Linked DNA regions of Homo sapiens: all the other regions are linked to region 1. The links are contacts of gene promoters, found by promoter capture Hi-C in blood cells and fetal thymus (Javierre and others, 2016). All regions are on one chromosome and are shown on one strand. Each heading gives the region's core, a stretch centred on a gene start or on the middle of the fragment in contact. The rest is flanking DNA. Distances are from core to core; before and after follow the strand shown. Region 1 holds the start of RAD51AP1 (RAD51 associated protein 1). Region 2 overlaps CRACR2A (calcium release activated channel regulator 2A). Region 3 overlaps PARP11 (poly(ADP-ribose) polymerase family member 11). Region 4 overlaps PARP11 (poly(ADP-ribose) polymerase family member 11). Region 5 overlaps PARP11-AS1 (PARP11 antisense RNA 1).

Region 1 (2,689 bases), core at 127-2,626:
TCAAATTCAGCATGTTCGAAACAGAAATCTTGATCCCTCACACCTCCTAACCTTCCTTTTCCTAGTCTTCCCTATCTTAATACAAAGATCATCCATCCTGTAGCTCAGACCAAAACTATTGTGGAGTCATCTCTGATTCTTTCTTTCCCTTACCTGTACATCTACTTCATCAGCAAGTTCTGTCCACAGTGCCTCCGAAATACATCCCAAATTCATCTGTTCCATTCCATGCCCACTAATAATACCCTATCCCAAACCGCTCTCCAATGATATAATACCTGATTTTCCTGCTCCCGTTCTGGTCACCCTATCCATCATTTATTCTCCACCAACAGCCAGTGACCTTTATAAAAGCAAACTTAGATTCCTCTCCCCTACTTAAAACCCTCCACTGACTTCCCATTGACTTAAAATAAAACCTAAACTCCTTTCTAAGACTTACAAGACCCTATCTGTTCTGGCACCTGCCTATTTCTCTGGCCTAATCCCCCTACGATTCTCCCCACTGCTTGTTAATCCTATAGCATTAGACTGTCCCTAAAATATGGTCAAGTATGGGGCCTTGGCTCCTATTCCCTCTACCCTGATTCATGACTCAGTGCATGCATTATCGCCTCAGAGTCACATATTAACTACTATATTTAAAGTAGTGCTTTCCTCTTTCGCACTCTCATATTTCGAGGCTTATTTTCGGCCCCCTAACCTCACCTCCCACTGGAATGTAACCTCCAGCACCTCGTACACTAAAGAAGTGAATATATTCAATAACTTTATTAAATGAATGGCTAACTATAGGCTTCCATGGCACTCAACTGTGTAAATAGAAGAATCGTTTCTAATACCACGATGGAAAGCACAGAGGATCTTGAGTGAGATGACTTAGGTTTGAGTATTGCCCTGCCACTTACTGGGCTGTATGACTCAGATAACTTACCCTCTATACGTAGAAATGTTAAATCAATACAACAGGAATGCTTACTCTTTCTATATCAAATAACTACAGTGATAAACAAATAAAATAACACATAATTGGGCGCTCGGTGAAATGTAAAGCGCTGTTCAAACGCTAACAAGGTCTTGGTAAAAGAAACGGCGACGGTTGTGAAGGGAGGCAAAGAGAAGGAAAAAGCTACGATGCTAGGATACTTCTGAGCAACGGGTGGCTCTCACTGGAGACTGGGTTCTTGATAACCGTCCATCCTAACCCCACCATCGCTGCCCTCCGGTCTTACTCGATCCTTTCCCCTTAGTCTCATGTCTTTTCCCTTAGTTTTCCTCCCACCCCCGACGAATGTCAGGAACTACCCACCTCACAGGCCGCACCATGGTCCCTTTCAAGGCTTGGTATTTACAGTTCTCAAATTCTTGTTGGCTTCAGCGGCGGTTTCAATTCCCGCCCAAAACCAGACTTCGGAGCCCTCCGCCCCCTGTTACCAGTCGTCCAATCATCACCAGCCATGCTTGCGGCGGCGCACGCGCTGTGGGGAAAGCGAATTTGCTCCCGCCCTCCCCAAGGCACCGCTTTTCCGTATCCGGTCCACCAGAGCCGAGTTTGTGCTTTGTCCCTGCACTTTCGTCACAACGGCGGATTTGCCCTGTCTCTGAAATACAGAATAACAATAGAAATACACCTTATTGCACCTTTCAAATTGTTAAATTGAAACAGGTTGGGACATAGGGGCACTTGGACTGAGAAATTTTCTACAAGATGCCAGGAAATAGAAAAGGATGTGGCGAATCTACGTTCGCGGATCCGCGGTGTGGAAAAAGTATGTCGGCAAGTCAGCTGGTTTCCCAGTGCAGGACGCGCTGACAGCTCGAGTGAGCGGACTGCCCAGGACTTCGGAACTAGACGAGGTGAGCCCAGAACCGAGTGAGGATGCCCTTTCAGACTGACAACCGTTACAGAGGGATTAGTCCCCTCACCCGGCTGAAGTTTCTCAGCTCGACCGTCTGTCTTCCTTTTCCCTGATTAATGTGAGCCTCAGAGCCTCCGCTCTGTTGGCTGTGTGTGTTCGGTCCAGACCTTCCATCCCATTTTCTTATGGGAAACCTTCCTGGATTTCACGGTTGCTAAAACTGAACCCAGGCTTCAGGATAGACCATTAGTCTAAAAAAAGAGCGAGAGGAGAAAGAACTAAAGTTATCAGTTTCTTGAAACACAAGTCTAAATGTTGAACCAGAGCTTTTGTGTCTGCCTTCTCTTTTTTTTTTCAACATTCCTGATTCATTCATATTTTTGCATTTATCAGTGGTTGATTCTTTTTTATTGCTGTGTAGTATTTATCTCATAAAATAAACAAGTTTACTATTCTCCTACTAATACGCATTTTGGTTGTTTCCAGTTTGGGGTATTATAAATAAAACTTATATGAGCATTCTTCTGGGTGTACTTTAGCGAACATATGCGTGTGTGTGTATTTGGATATATACTTAGGAATGAAATTTCTACATCATAGAATATACCTTTATGTAGTTTTGGTAGTTTTCTAACATTATAAAAATTTGTATTGCTTTACGTTTAATTTTAATTCTTTCTGAGTAAAACAAATACCCTATCTCTTTGCATTATGGTGAAATAGACGAAGATTTTTGTGTATAGCCTACATACAGATTTGAAAATATAGTCTGGATAATTCAACTTAGCCCCGCCCCACGACATGTACAAAAGTCCTTTGAGTTTTTTTTA
Region 2 (2,689 bases), core at 74-2,573, 790 kb after region 1:
CTCAGCATTGAGGTCCAGGATTTGTAGTCCATCAGAGTTCTCTTGGTAAATGGATGCAGCTTTGCCACATTGTCCGCTGCACATAACCACATACCTTCACCCACTGGGATAGAGGGTTGGATTGGTGCTGATGCGGGAGGGAGGCCAGCTTCCTGCAGCCCCACCTTGACCAAAGACGGAACTCCAGGGACTCTCTTTCCACTGCACCTCAAGGTTGATGCACAGAAACACACTGGGCATGGCTGAGAGTTTGGCATAAATGAACTCATCTTTGTAACCGTTTTATGAAATAGGCACTGTTATGATCATCCTCCCCATTTTACAGATGAGGAAGCCATCTTCCTCATCTGTTTCAAGAGGCTGAGTAACTTTTCCAGGGTCACACAGCTGATAAGAGGCCGAGCTGGGATTTGAACCCAGGCAGTCTGGCTCTAGGGCCAAGTCCTCAAGCGTTCCACAGCCTGCCGCCTCTGAATGCTTAGTGCAGAGTCTGGGTTCTACTCTAACCAGTCATATGTCTTTGGGATTAGCCTCTAAACCTGAGTTTCTCTTCTCTTCATTCAAGTGAGAATACAGGAGTTACCTGTTGATCCATGTCAGGTGAGTTAAGGGATGTGAGGAAGCACGTGGTCCACGCACATGTGATCCCATGGGTCATGGTGACATTACCTGTTTTGAGAGCTTGTGGTTGAGTTCCATGCTAAGGGTGTACTCCTCCCCTTGTTGGTCCTTCTCAACCAACTTGTTGAGATGTACTCCTCCCCTTGTTGGTCCTTCACAACTTGTTGTGCTTGTCTTGGATTGAAATTCTCCAGGAGGCAGAAGCAGAGTCTCTCACCTAATTAGCTTCCATGCATGCTAAGTCCCTGCTGTGCCAGCAAAGGGTCCTGCAGGGGGTCTGGTCTAAGAAGAGAGGGGTGGTCCCTGTAGTAGGCATGCATACTCCCTTTGAGGGGATGTCTTTGTTCTGGCAGACAGAACAAAATATCACAGACAACCGAAATTTATTTTCTCACAGTTCTGGAGGCTGGAAGTCTAACATCATGGTGCCAGTTTGGTGGGTGAAGGTTCTCTCCTTGGCTTGCAGAAAGCCACTTTCTTTTTGTGTCCTCACATGGCACAGAGAGGGAGAGAATGGGAGAGGAAGAAGGGAGAGGGAGGGTGGAGGAAGGGTGGGGAAGAGGGAGGAGAGAGAGATGGGGAGAGAGAGAGAGAGAGAGAGCTCTCTGGTGTCTCTTCATGATGGGCACTAATCCCATCATGAGGGCCCCACCCTCATGACCTCATCTAAACCTAATCACCTCCTAAAGTCCTCACCTCCAAATACCATCACATTGAGAGTTAGGGCTTCAACATATGAATTGTCGGGGGGACATAATTTAGCTCATAGCAGGAGATGATATGAAAAATAACCAATGATGTTAGTGTTTATAGGCAAGTAAGTAAAGTATATTTCTCATGGCTTTAGAGAGGAGGTAGGATTTGAGCTGCACCTAGAAGTACAGCCCAGGCTGGGAAGCATTTACAGCACAGGGCCCTGAGGCACAGGAACAGCCCTTCACCCCCTCGACAGGGCCATGCCCTTCTGAAGACATGAATGGGGTCAGGGAGGTCAGCGGGAGGGAGATGAGAGACACTGGCCAGAGAGACACCTCCTGCCTTCAGCCAGGTTTTGTTTTTCTGTAGGGAAGGAGATGGTTTGTCAAAGATACTATTTCTTTTTTCTTTTCTCTTCTCTTTTCTTTCTTTATTTTATTTTATTTTATTTTATTTTATTTTATTTTATTTTATTTTTTGAGACGAAGTTTTGTTCTTGTTGCCCAGGCTGGAGCGCAATGGCATGATCTTGGCTCACTGCAACCTACCTACACCTCCTGGGTTCAAGCGATTCTCCTGCCTCAGCCTCCCAAGTAGCTGGGATTACAGGCATGCACCACCATGCCTGGCTAATTTTTGTATTTTTAGTAGAGACGGGGTTTCTCCATCTTGGCCAGGATGGTCTCAAACTCCAGACCTCAAATGATCTGCCTGCCTTGGCCTCCCAAAGTGCTGAGATTACAGGTGTGAGCCACTGCACCTGGCCTAAAGCTACTATTTCTTAACCTGAGCAGGGCTGAAATTTTAGGGGCTTTCTTCCCAAGGCAGGTTTTGTGAGCAAGACAGCAGCAGCGCCACCATCCCCAGAGGAGGACACGGTGGGATTGAGGGAGGAGGAGTTCTTGGAAGTTCATTTCTGTGGGTAGTGTCATCTGAATCACGGTCAGAAATTGCCATTGGGGAGATACCATCAGGGATAACACATTGTTCAGCAGAAGAACCTCTAGATCTTTCAGTGGTGCCATGGCCTGCGGTAGCTTTTTGGTTTTCGGGTCTTCTGGGAGTTTGGATTGAACAGACACCCCGGATACAGATCATCCACAGGATGGAGATCTTGACTCACAGGGCCTTTGGTGTGGCATCTGGGTGCATGGACACAGCCTTCCCTACAGAATCCCACAGAGGGAAGGCCATCCAACTCTTCTTTATGTTATTTTTATTGGACTGTCTTCAGTGGGCAGAGAGTTGAGGTTTAGGGTTTTTTGTTTGTTTGTTTTTGGATCTTCACTGTTTCATTGTGATAAAATATACATAACATAAAATGTATCATTTTAACCATTTTAAGTATACTGCGCAGTGGCAGTAAGTATAT
Region 3 (2,689 bases), core at 49-2,548, 720 kb after region 1:
ACTGAGACACGTTGGGTTGCCTGACCCAAAGTGGTATCTGCTGTGTTGGAGCAAAGAAGAGAGTTTTGAGGTATTAAGATTATAGAATGGTAGGGCTTGGCGCCTCACTTATTGTATGCGATGGAGTGAATAAGGGAGATGAGAAAGATAACTCCCAAGTTTTTGGCTTGTTTTACTTGACTAAGGGAATATCAGTAGGGACATCTTTAGGGATGATGGAAAGGGAGTATTAGTTGATATACAGCAGTTGACATATGGGTCAGGAGTTGAGAAGAGTGGTGTAGACTAGAGACAAAGGTTTTGGAGTTGTTAGAAAATGTGGGGTAATAGAAACTATAGGAATGAAGAAGATGACCAGGGAGCGTATGTACATTAAGAAAAGAAGAGGGCCAAGGGTCAAATTCTGGAAGGGATGAACAGAGGAAGAGAAAACCCAAGGAGGAAACTGACAACCACAGAAAGCGGGAGAAAACCAATAGAAGATGTAATCACAGAAGCTGGAGGGAGAATGTGGTTTACACAAGTAGGTGCCATCTGTACGATTACATACTGAAAAGATGTCAAGTAAGATAAATTTGAAAAGTTCCTTTGCATTTTTCAATAAGAAGGCCATTGGTAACTTAGATGAAGGCAAGGTTGGTAGACATCATATTGTGTATACAGCAAATGTTGACAACTTTTTCAAGAAGCTTGGCAGTGAGGAGGATGAGAGATGTGAGAAGACAGCTAATGTGGGATTATTGTTATGTTATGTTTTTAAAATTTAATCATGGGAGAGAACTGAACATTGTAATTGGAAAGGACCTATGGAGAAGGAGAATTTAAAAGACTTAGAGAAAGAGTGGAAGGGCAGTTGATGGATTCTAGCTCCTGAAGAAGTGTGGTGAGATGAAATTCTGAGAACATATGTCAGAAAGGAGATAGAGAAGGGTGGTCCAGTTATGTTTACAGATAAGTAGAGGTAGAGGACGAAAAGAGGAGTTAGGTTAAGGAGTTCTTTTCTGATACCTTCCGTTTCTTTTGTGAAGGAAGAAGGGAGGTCACCTACAGCGAATGAAGTGTAGGGAGGTGTTGATAAGAGGGAAAGAAAAGGGGAAAGAGGAGATTTGAAATGGCTACTGTGGAAAATGGGGTAGAACGAGCTGTCTTGGGAACCACAGGATTTCTGTCAGCGTTGAGGGCTTAGCTAAAGTATGTGAATTTATAGGGCAAACCATGTTATGTAATGTACTTCAGCAGTACAAATGTAAGGGCAGATAGTGGAAATGGTTGGATTGATCCAGAGCTGGGAAGTATAAGGCAGCAAGGAAATAAGAGCATCTTGTTAATAATGTGAATTTAGATCAGAGATTCTCAAAGCTAGTTGCAGGTCAGAATCGCCAGTGGAATTTACTAGCAAGTAGAGATACCTGTCACCCGCCACAGATCTACTGAATCAGAACCTCTGGGTTCTGACATTTTTACCTTAAAAAATTCCATAAGTGGCTCTGATGTTCAGCAGGATGACAGGTGTTCTAAATCTAGGCAAATTTATTTTAATCCAGAGCATGAAAGTATTCTTGCTCCAGTGCAGAGCATGTGGCATACACACTTTAGCCAGTTTGGCACTCTAGTCCCTAAGAGGTGGATAATTTTGAGACATCTTTGAGAAGTGGGTGCGACAGTACTTTCAGTAAGTTCGGGAATGATTGTGGATCTGGGCAAAGGTGGGCAGGGTTGTGAAGAACTTAGTGTAGTTCTGTGACTTTCCTTGCAGATGTAACTAAAGTTCATGAGGCCCTGGAAATCACCTTTAGCCTTTCTGGAACACCAAGGTCATAGTCTGTGAATGTCCGCATTTCGTGGCTGCCTTAGTAGTGGGAGTAGTGGGCACTAGAACAAACTGTGCTGTGGGGATACAAAGCTTTAACCACCATGCCCCTGCCCTCTGCCTTCAACTGGTATATATGCACCATCTAATCTAGTAAGTAAGCGTTGTTTTCCATGCCTGCCTATGCCCATACTCCATGCCCTTTAACCCACAGTTTATTTATAATATCTAAGAGAAACTCCAGTGAATTTTCAAACCGAGATTCAATCGAATTTGTGCCCGAAAAGTAGTGATAAATGAATTTTTTTTTTTTTGAGACAGAATCTCTTTCTGACACCCAAGCTGGAGTGCAGTGGCGCGATCTCAGCTCACTGCAAGTTCCGCCTCCGGGGTTCATGCCATTCTCCTGCCTCAGCCTCCTGAGTAGCTGGGACTACAGGCGCCCGCCACCACGCCTGGCTAATTTTTTGTATTTTTAGTAGAGACAGGGTTTCACCATGTTAGCTAGGATGGTCTGGATCTTCTGACCTCGTGATCCGCCCACCTCAGCCTCCCAAAGTGCTGGAATTACAGGCGTGAGCCTCTGCGCCTGGCCTTCTTTTTGAGATGGAGTCTTGCTCTGTTCCCCAGGCTGCAGTGCGGTGGCACAATCTCAGCTCATTACAACCTCCGCCTCCTGGATTCAAGTAATTCTCCTGCCTCAGCCTCCCAAGTAGCTGGGATTACAGGTGTGTGCCACCACACCCAGCTAATTTTTGTATCTTTTAGTAGAGACAGAATTTCCTTAGAGTGGATTCTAGTCATTGCAGATCATGAAGCACAACATTGACAAGTTTGACATTACAGACCATGAAGCCTGGCATTATGTATGATACTAAT
Region 4 (2,689 bases), core at 141-2,640, 680 kb after region 1:
AGGTACATTTTTTGCATATGTCAGGAGGTTATATATCTTTTTTGTTTTCCCTTGGATGATATACAGAGTCCTTCGAAATCACCAATTGTTCATCATCAACACTGAACATAGTCTTAGGCCAGGTTGTGTCAGGCACGACTATGTCTTCAGTCATTGTTTTCCGAGTGTTGGCAACTGCATTTGTGGCATCCTCCATGCTAAACTACTTTTGAAAACTTTCTACACCCTTATCTCTGTTCACTGTTGCTAGCATGCTATTCAAGAATATATTTTTATATTTACCCTTTATTGATCTAAGGATATCCTGGTCACATGCCTTAATTAATGAAGTCACATTTCGGGGAAAGTACATGTTATAAACATTATTTTTTATGGGAATTTCAGCTGGAGGATGAGCAGAACAGTTGTCAAGGAATAACAAAATCTTACAGTCTAGCTTCACTGCAGTAAGCATGAGCCGCTAGTACAAAATGTTTGTGAAACTAGTCAGAAAAGAGGTTTCTGGTGATACATGCCTTTTCTTTTCCTTTTTTTTTTTTAGCATAATAATGGACTGGTAAGAAATTTACTCCTTGAATACAGTGAGGACGTGAGGTTTTCCCTGTCAAAGCAAGTTTACACTTATATGTGTATTAGCACATCCCAGCACAGTTATTCTGTCTTTGGCATCCTTAATTCCTGTAAAGGCTGTCTCAGCAGCTGTAATTGGTGTCTTTCTAGGATAATAATGTCAAAACAGTGATGTTTCATTGGCATTATAGACTTGTTCTAGTGTCAGATGTTTATCAGCAATGACCTTGGCAAACTCATCAATGAATTTCTCTGTTGCTTCATGATCACCGTGTTTTATCCCTACATGTCTTTAAAAATTTAATGCTGTATCTTTTTTTTATTATTATTATTATACTTTAAGTTCCAGGGTACATGTGCACAACGTACAGGTTTGTTTCATATGTATACATGTGCCATGTTGGTTTGCTGCCCCCATTAACTCGTCATTTACATTAGGTATTTCTCCTAATGCTATCCTTCCCCCAGCCCCCCACCCCCCGACAGGCCCTGGTGTGTGATGTTCCCTGCCCTGTGTCCAGGTGTTTTCATTGTTCAATCCCACTTATGAGTGAGAACGTGCGGTGTTTGGTTTTCTGTCCTTGCAATAGTTTGCTCAGAATGATGGTTTCCAGCTTCATCCATATCCCTGCAAAGGACTTGAACTCATCCTTTTTTATGGCTGCATAGTATTCCGTGGTGTATGTGTGCCACATTTTCTTAATCCAGTCTATCATTGATGGACATTTGGGTTGGTTCCAAGTCTTTGCTATTGTGAATAGTGCCACAGTAAACGTATGTGTGCATGTGTCTTTATAGTAGCATGATTTATAATCCTTTGGGTATATACCCAGTAATGAAATCACTGGGTCAAATAGTATTTCTAGTTCTAGATCCTTGAGGAATCACCACAGTGTCTTCCATCTTCCACAATGGTTGAACTAGTTTACACTCCCACCAATAGTGTAAAAGTGTTCCTGTTTCTCCACATCCTCTCCAGCACCTGTTGTTTCCTGACTTTTTAATGATTGCCATTCTAACTGGTGTGAGATGGTATCTCATTGTGGTTTTGTTTTGGATTTCTCTGATGACCAGTGATGATGAGCATTTTTTCATGTGTCTATTGGCTGCATAAATGTCTCCTTTTGAAAAGTGTCTATTCATATCCTTTGCCCACTTTTGGATGGGGTTGTTTGATTTTTTTCTTGTAAATTTGTTTGAGTTCTTTGTAGATTCTGGATATTCACCCTTTGTCAGATGGGTAGATTGCAAAAATTTTTTCCCATTCTGTAGGTTGCCTGTTCACTCTGATGGTAGTTTCTTGTGCTGTGCAGAAACTCTTTAATTAGATCCCATTTGTCTATTTTGGCTTTTGTTGCCACTGCTTTTGGTGTTTTAGTCATGAAGTCCTTGCCCATGCCTATGTCCTGAATGGTATTACCTAGGTTTTCTTCTAGAGTTTTTATGGTTTTAGGTCTAACATTTAAGTCTTGAATCCATCTTGAAAATTAATTTTTATATAAGGTGTAAGGAAGGGATCCAGTTTCAGCTTTCTAGCCAGTTTTCCCAGCACCATTTATTAAATAGGGAATCCTTTCCCCATTTCTTGTTTTTGTCAGGTTTGTCAAAGATCAGGTGGTTGTAGATGTGTGGTGTTATTTCTGAGGCCTCTGTTCTGTTCCGTTCCATTGGTCTATATCTCTGTTTTGGTACCAGTACCATGCTGTTTTGGTTACTGTAGCCTTTTAGTATAGTTTGAAATCAGGTAGCATGATGCCTCTAGCTTTGTTCCTTTTTGCTTAGGATTGTCTTGGCAATGTGGGCTCTTTTTTGGTTCCATATGAACTTTAAAGTAGTTTTTTCCAATTCTGTGAAGAATGTCATTGGTAGCTTGATGGGGATGGCATTGAATCTATAAATTACCTTGGGCAGTATGGCCATTTTCACGATATTGATTCTTCCTATCCATGAGCATGGAATGTTCTTCCATTCGTTTGTGTCCTCTTTTATTTCGTTGAGCAGTGCTTTGTAGTTCTCCTTGAAGAGGTCCTTCACATCCCTTGTAAGTTGGATTCCTAGGTATTTTATTCTCTTTGTAGCAATTGTGAATGGGAGTTCACTCATGATTTGGCTCTCTGTT
Region 5 (2,689 bases), core at 103-2,602, 640 kb after region 1:
GATTAAACATTTTTTTTAGTTAAAAAGAAGAATACAGCAATAAAAATAACACAAATTTAAAACATACAGTATAGTAAATCTTTACATAGCATTTACATTGTATTAGGTATTATGAGTAATCTGGAGATGGTTTAAAGTATACAGGAGGATGTGCATGGATTACATGCAAACACTATGCCATTTTATATAAGGAACTTGAGCATCTGTGGATTCTGGCACCCACAGGGAGTCCTGGAACCAATCCCCTGTGGATACCAAGGAATGACTGTAATAACTCACAATACTTGCCAGTGGATTAAAGCCAACCACTAAAAGCAGAGATTATGAAAATGAATGAAAGAGAAAGACCCAACAATATGCAATTGAGAAGAAAGACACACAAAACAATATCAGTCTGAAGGTTTGAAATTGAAGGGTGAGAAAAAAAAGATCATGTAAATTCCAAATGAATGTTGAGCAGCAAGATTAATATATGACAAGATAAAATTTGTTGCAAAAAGAACAAATAGAGAAAAAGATAGATACTATACAATAATAAAATGAATCATTCTCCAAGATGATGTAGCAATCATGACCTTGCATGCACCTAACAACATAGTTTTAAGTTATATAAAAGGCCAAAACAGATCATTTTATACACATAGTAGATTTTTAATATTCTTCTAACAGCAAATGAGAAATCTAACAAAAAAAACTCTGTAAGAATATTCGAAGAAAATATCTATAAATTTATCTGTTTTATATAGAACTCTGTACCCAATAAAAATTATAAATTTTTCTTCTTAGAAAATTTACAAAATTGGCCATATTGTGAAGACTTTAGCAATTTTCAAAGAATTTATATTATGCATATTTGTATCAATATGCAATTAAATTAGACATCTGCAAGCAAAGAGGAGAGGTGTTTTTTTGTTTCTGTTTTTGTTTTGAGACAGTCTCACTCTGTCACCCAGGCAGGATTACAGTTCACTGCAATCTCTGCCTCCTGGGTTCAAGTGATTCTTGTGCCTCAGCCTCCCAAGTAGCTGGGATTACAGGCATGTGCCACAGTGCCTGGCTGAGAGTTTTTTTTTAAAGAAGTTAAAAAAAAATAAAAAAACTGCATGTTTGGAAATTTAAAAATATCTTTCTAGTTAACTTTTAGATTCAACAGGAAATAATAATGAAAAGTTGAAAATATTCTAAACGAAGTGAAAATAAAATAATCACAAAAAATGTGTGATGCAGTAAGGTAGTATTAAAAGATGTGATTAGAACCTAAAATTTATCTGTAAAATAAAAGAAAGATAAAAAGGAAATGAGTTTGCAGTCAATTCAAGAAGGGAGAAAATAAACAAACAAACCAGAAGGTGCCACAAAGGGTAGAAAAAAGGAAATAATAAAGGTAAAGTAAAAATCAATAAATTAAGAAAAAATTACAAAAAGTTCATATAGTTAAAATTTGAGTTTTTGAATGAAAGAAAAATTTCTAGTGAGGCAAATCAAGGAAAATGACACAAATAAATAAAATATTAAGAACAAAAAAGGGAACAGAAACAAAACACATTAGAATAGAGATTAAACAAACCATAAGAGAAAATGGAAAAATTTATGCAAATAAATTTGAAAATTCAGAATAAAAGATTAAGGTTTCTTTTGCAAGGATACAGGAAGAATAGATACTGGGATGAAATTAGCAATCTTGGCCACACCTTCTAGTCCTACTTTATTGAGTTTTTTAAAATCATAATTTGATAAATTATAAATTGAATGTGCTTTCTTTATCTTTCGAGGAAAGTGTATGTTTTCCCACCTGAAGGTGGGAAACGATTAGGATGGTGGAACAACATGGTAATAGGATTCTGGATCTCTGAGACTGCAGCACACTAATTGTGTCCTGAACTGAATACCTCTGGATATCTTGGGCATGAAAAATAAGTTTCCATCTTGTATAATCTACTGCTATTCAGTCTTTTTATGTTGCCTGCAACCAAGCCTAATCCTAACTGATACACAAACACTTTAACAGAGACTATTTATAAAAATATATTACAAAACCACTCATAATGTCAAAGTACTATGAATGGTGCCCCCTAGAGTTGTGCTATGGAAAGGTCCTGAAAGCTGAAACTTGATAATTATTCCTATCAGAGTCAGGAGGAAACAGCTGCTTACCATATCTACTCCTTTTCAATATTGTATCTGAAGTATAAGTTAATGTAATAAGGCAAGAAAAATACATAATATAAGAATTTAAAAGCAGAAAGAAAGCTGTTCTTATTTTCAGATGATATAATAGTCCGTAGGACACTTTATAAACTATTAGAATTAATGAGTGATCACTAAGCTGGATATAAGACCAACAAACAAATCAATAGCCTACTTAATCACCAGTAATAGACAATTAGAAATGTAATCTTCAAAAATGTCATATTTGCAAAAATGTGTAGGATGCCTGTGAAGAAAATAATAAAATTTTATTGAAGGAAATAGAACAAGACATGGTATATTAATTAAGGTGTTTTTACATGCAAGTAACATATATCCAACAGGAAGTGTCTTGAAGTAATATTTATTACTTCACATTACATGAAGCCCAGCATGGGCAGGTTCAGGGTTGCTTAATCCTGCAACTCAAGGATGTCATCAAACACTCAGGATCTTTCCATCTTTCTGCTGAAGCATCTCCAACAAGGCTTTTATCTCAGGT

Evidence for each region. The method cuts DNA at HindIII sites, captures the fragments that hold promoters and counts their contacts. A CHiCAGO score of 5 or more calls a contact.
Region 2: a contact is called between a fragment that was not itself captured here and the fragment with the promoter of RAD51AP1 in region 1, in 2 of 17 cell types (neutrophils and activated CD4 T cells). The highest score is 6.9, in neutrophils.
Region 3: a contact is called between a fragment that was not itself captured here and the fragment with the promoter of RAD51AP1 in region 1, in 1 of 17 cell types (activated CD4 T cells). The highest score is 5.8, in activated CD4 T cells.
Region 4: a fragment that was not itself captured here is called in contact with the fragment with the promoter of RAD51AP1 in region 1 in 1 of 17 cell types (neutrophils); the score reaches 5.3 in neutrophils.
Region 5: a fragment that was not itself captured here is called in contact with the fragment with the promoter of RAD51AP1 in region 1 in 2 of 17 cell types (monocytes and neutrophils); the score reaches 5.2 in monocytes.

Annotation. Positions count from the first base shown.
Region 1 is chr12:4,537,577-4,540,265 of GRCh38, reverse strand. It overlaps RAD51AP1 (RAD51 associated protein 1), which reads right to left and starts at 1,376. Exons shown (of 9, transcript NM_006479.5): 1 at 1,310-1,376. The coding sequence starts at 1,326. It overlaps FERRY3 (FERRY endosomal RAB5 effector complex subunit 3), which reads left to right and starts at 1,797. Exons shown (of 14, transcript NM_020374.4): 1 at 1,797-1,857. RefSeq lists enhancers at 944-1,552, 1,553-2,162 and a silencer at 1,768-1,817. The HindIII fragment of the contact is 5,379 bases long and covers 1-2,689 here.
Region 2 is chr12:3,744,886-3,747,574 of GRCh38, reverse strand. All of the region lies in intron 1 of CRACR2A (calcium release activated channel regulator 2A), which reads left to right. Among named protein-coding and RNA genes, the nearest start is that of CRACR2A, 6.9 kb to the left of the region's middle. The HindIII fragment of the contact is 4,064 bases long and covers 1-2,689 here.
Region 3 is chr12:3,816,626-3,819,314 of GRCh38, reverse strand. The region is part of intron 6 of PARP11 (poly(ADP-ribose) polymerase family member 11); the gene reads left to right. Among named protein-coding and RNA genes, the nearest start is that of PARP11-AS1, 52 kb to the left of the region's middle. The HindIII fragment of the contact is 1,214 bases long and covers 692-1,905 here.
Region 4 is chr12:3,855,488-3,858,176 of GRCh38, reverse strand. All of the region lies in intron 1 of PARP11 (poly(ADP-ribose) polymerase family member 11), which reads left to right. Among named protein-coding and RNA genes, the nearest start is that of PARP11-AS1, 13 kb to the left of the region's middle. The HindIII fragment of the contact is 3,730 bases long and covers 1-2,689 here.
Region 5 is chr12:3,900,676-3,903,364 of GRCh38, reverse strand. All of the region lies in intron 1 of PARP11-AS1 (PARP11 antisense RNA 1), which reads right to left. Among named protein-coding and RNA genes, the nearest start is that of PARP11, 29 kb to the right of the region's middle. The HindIII fragment of the contact is 9,522 bases long and covers 1-2,689 here.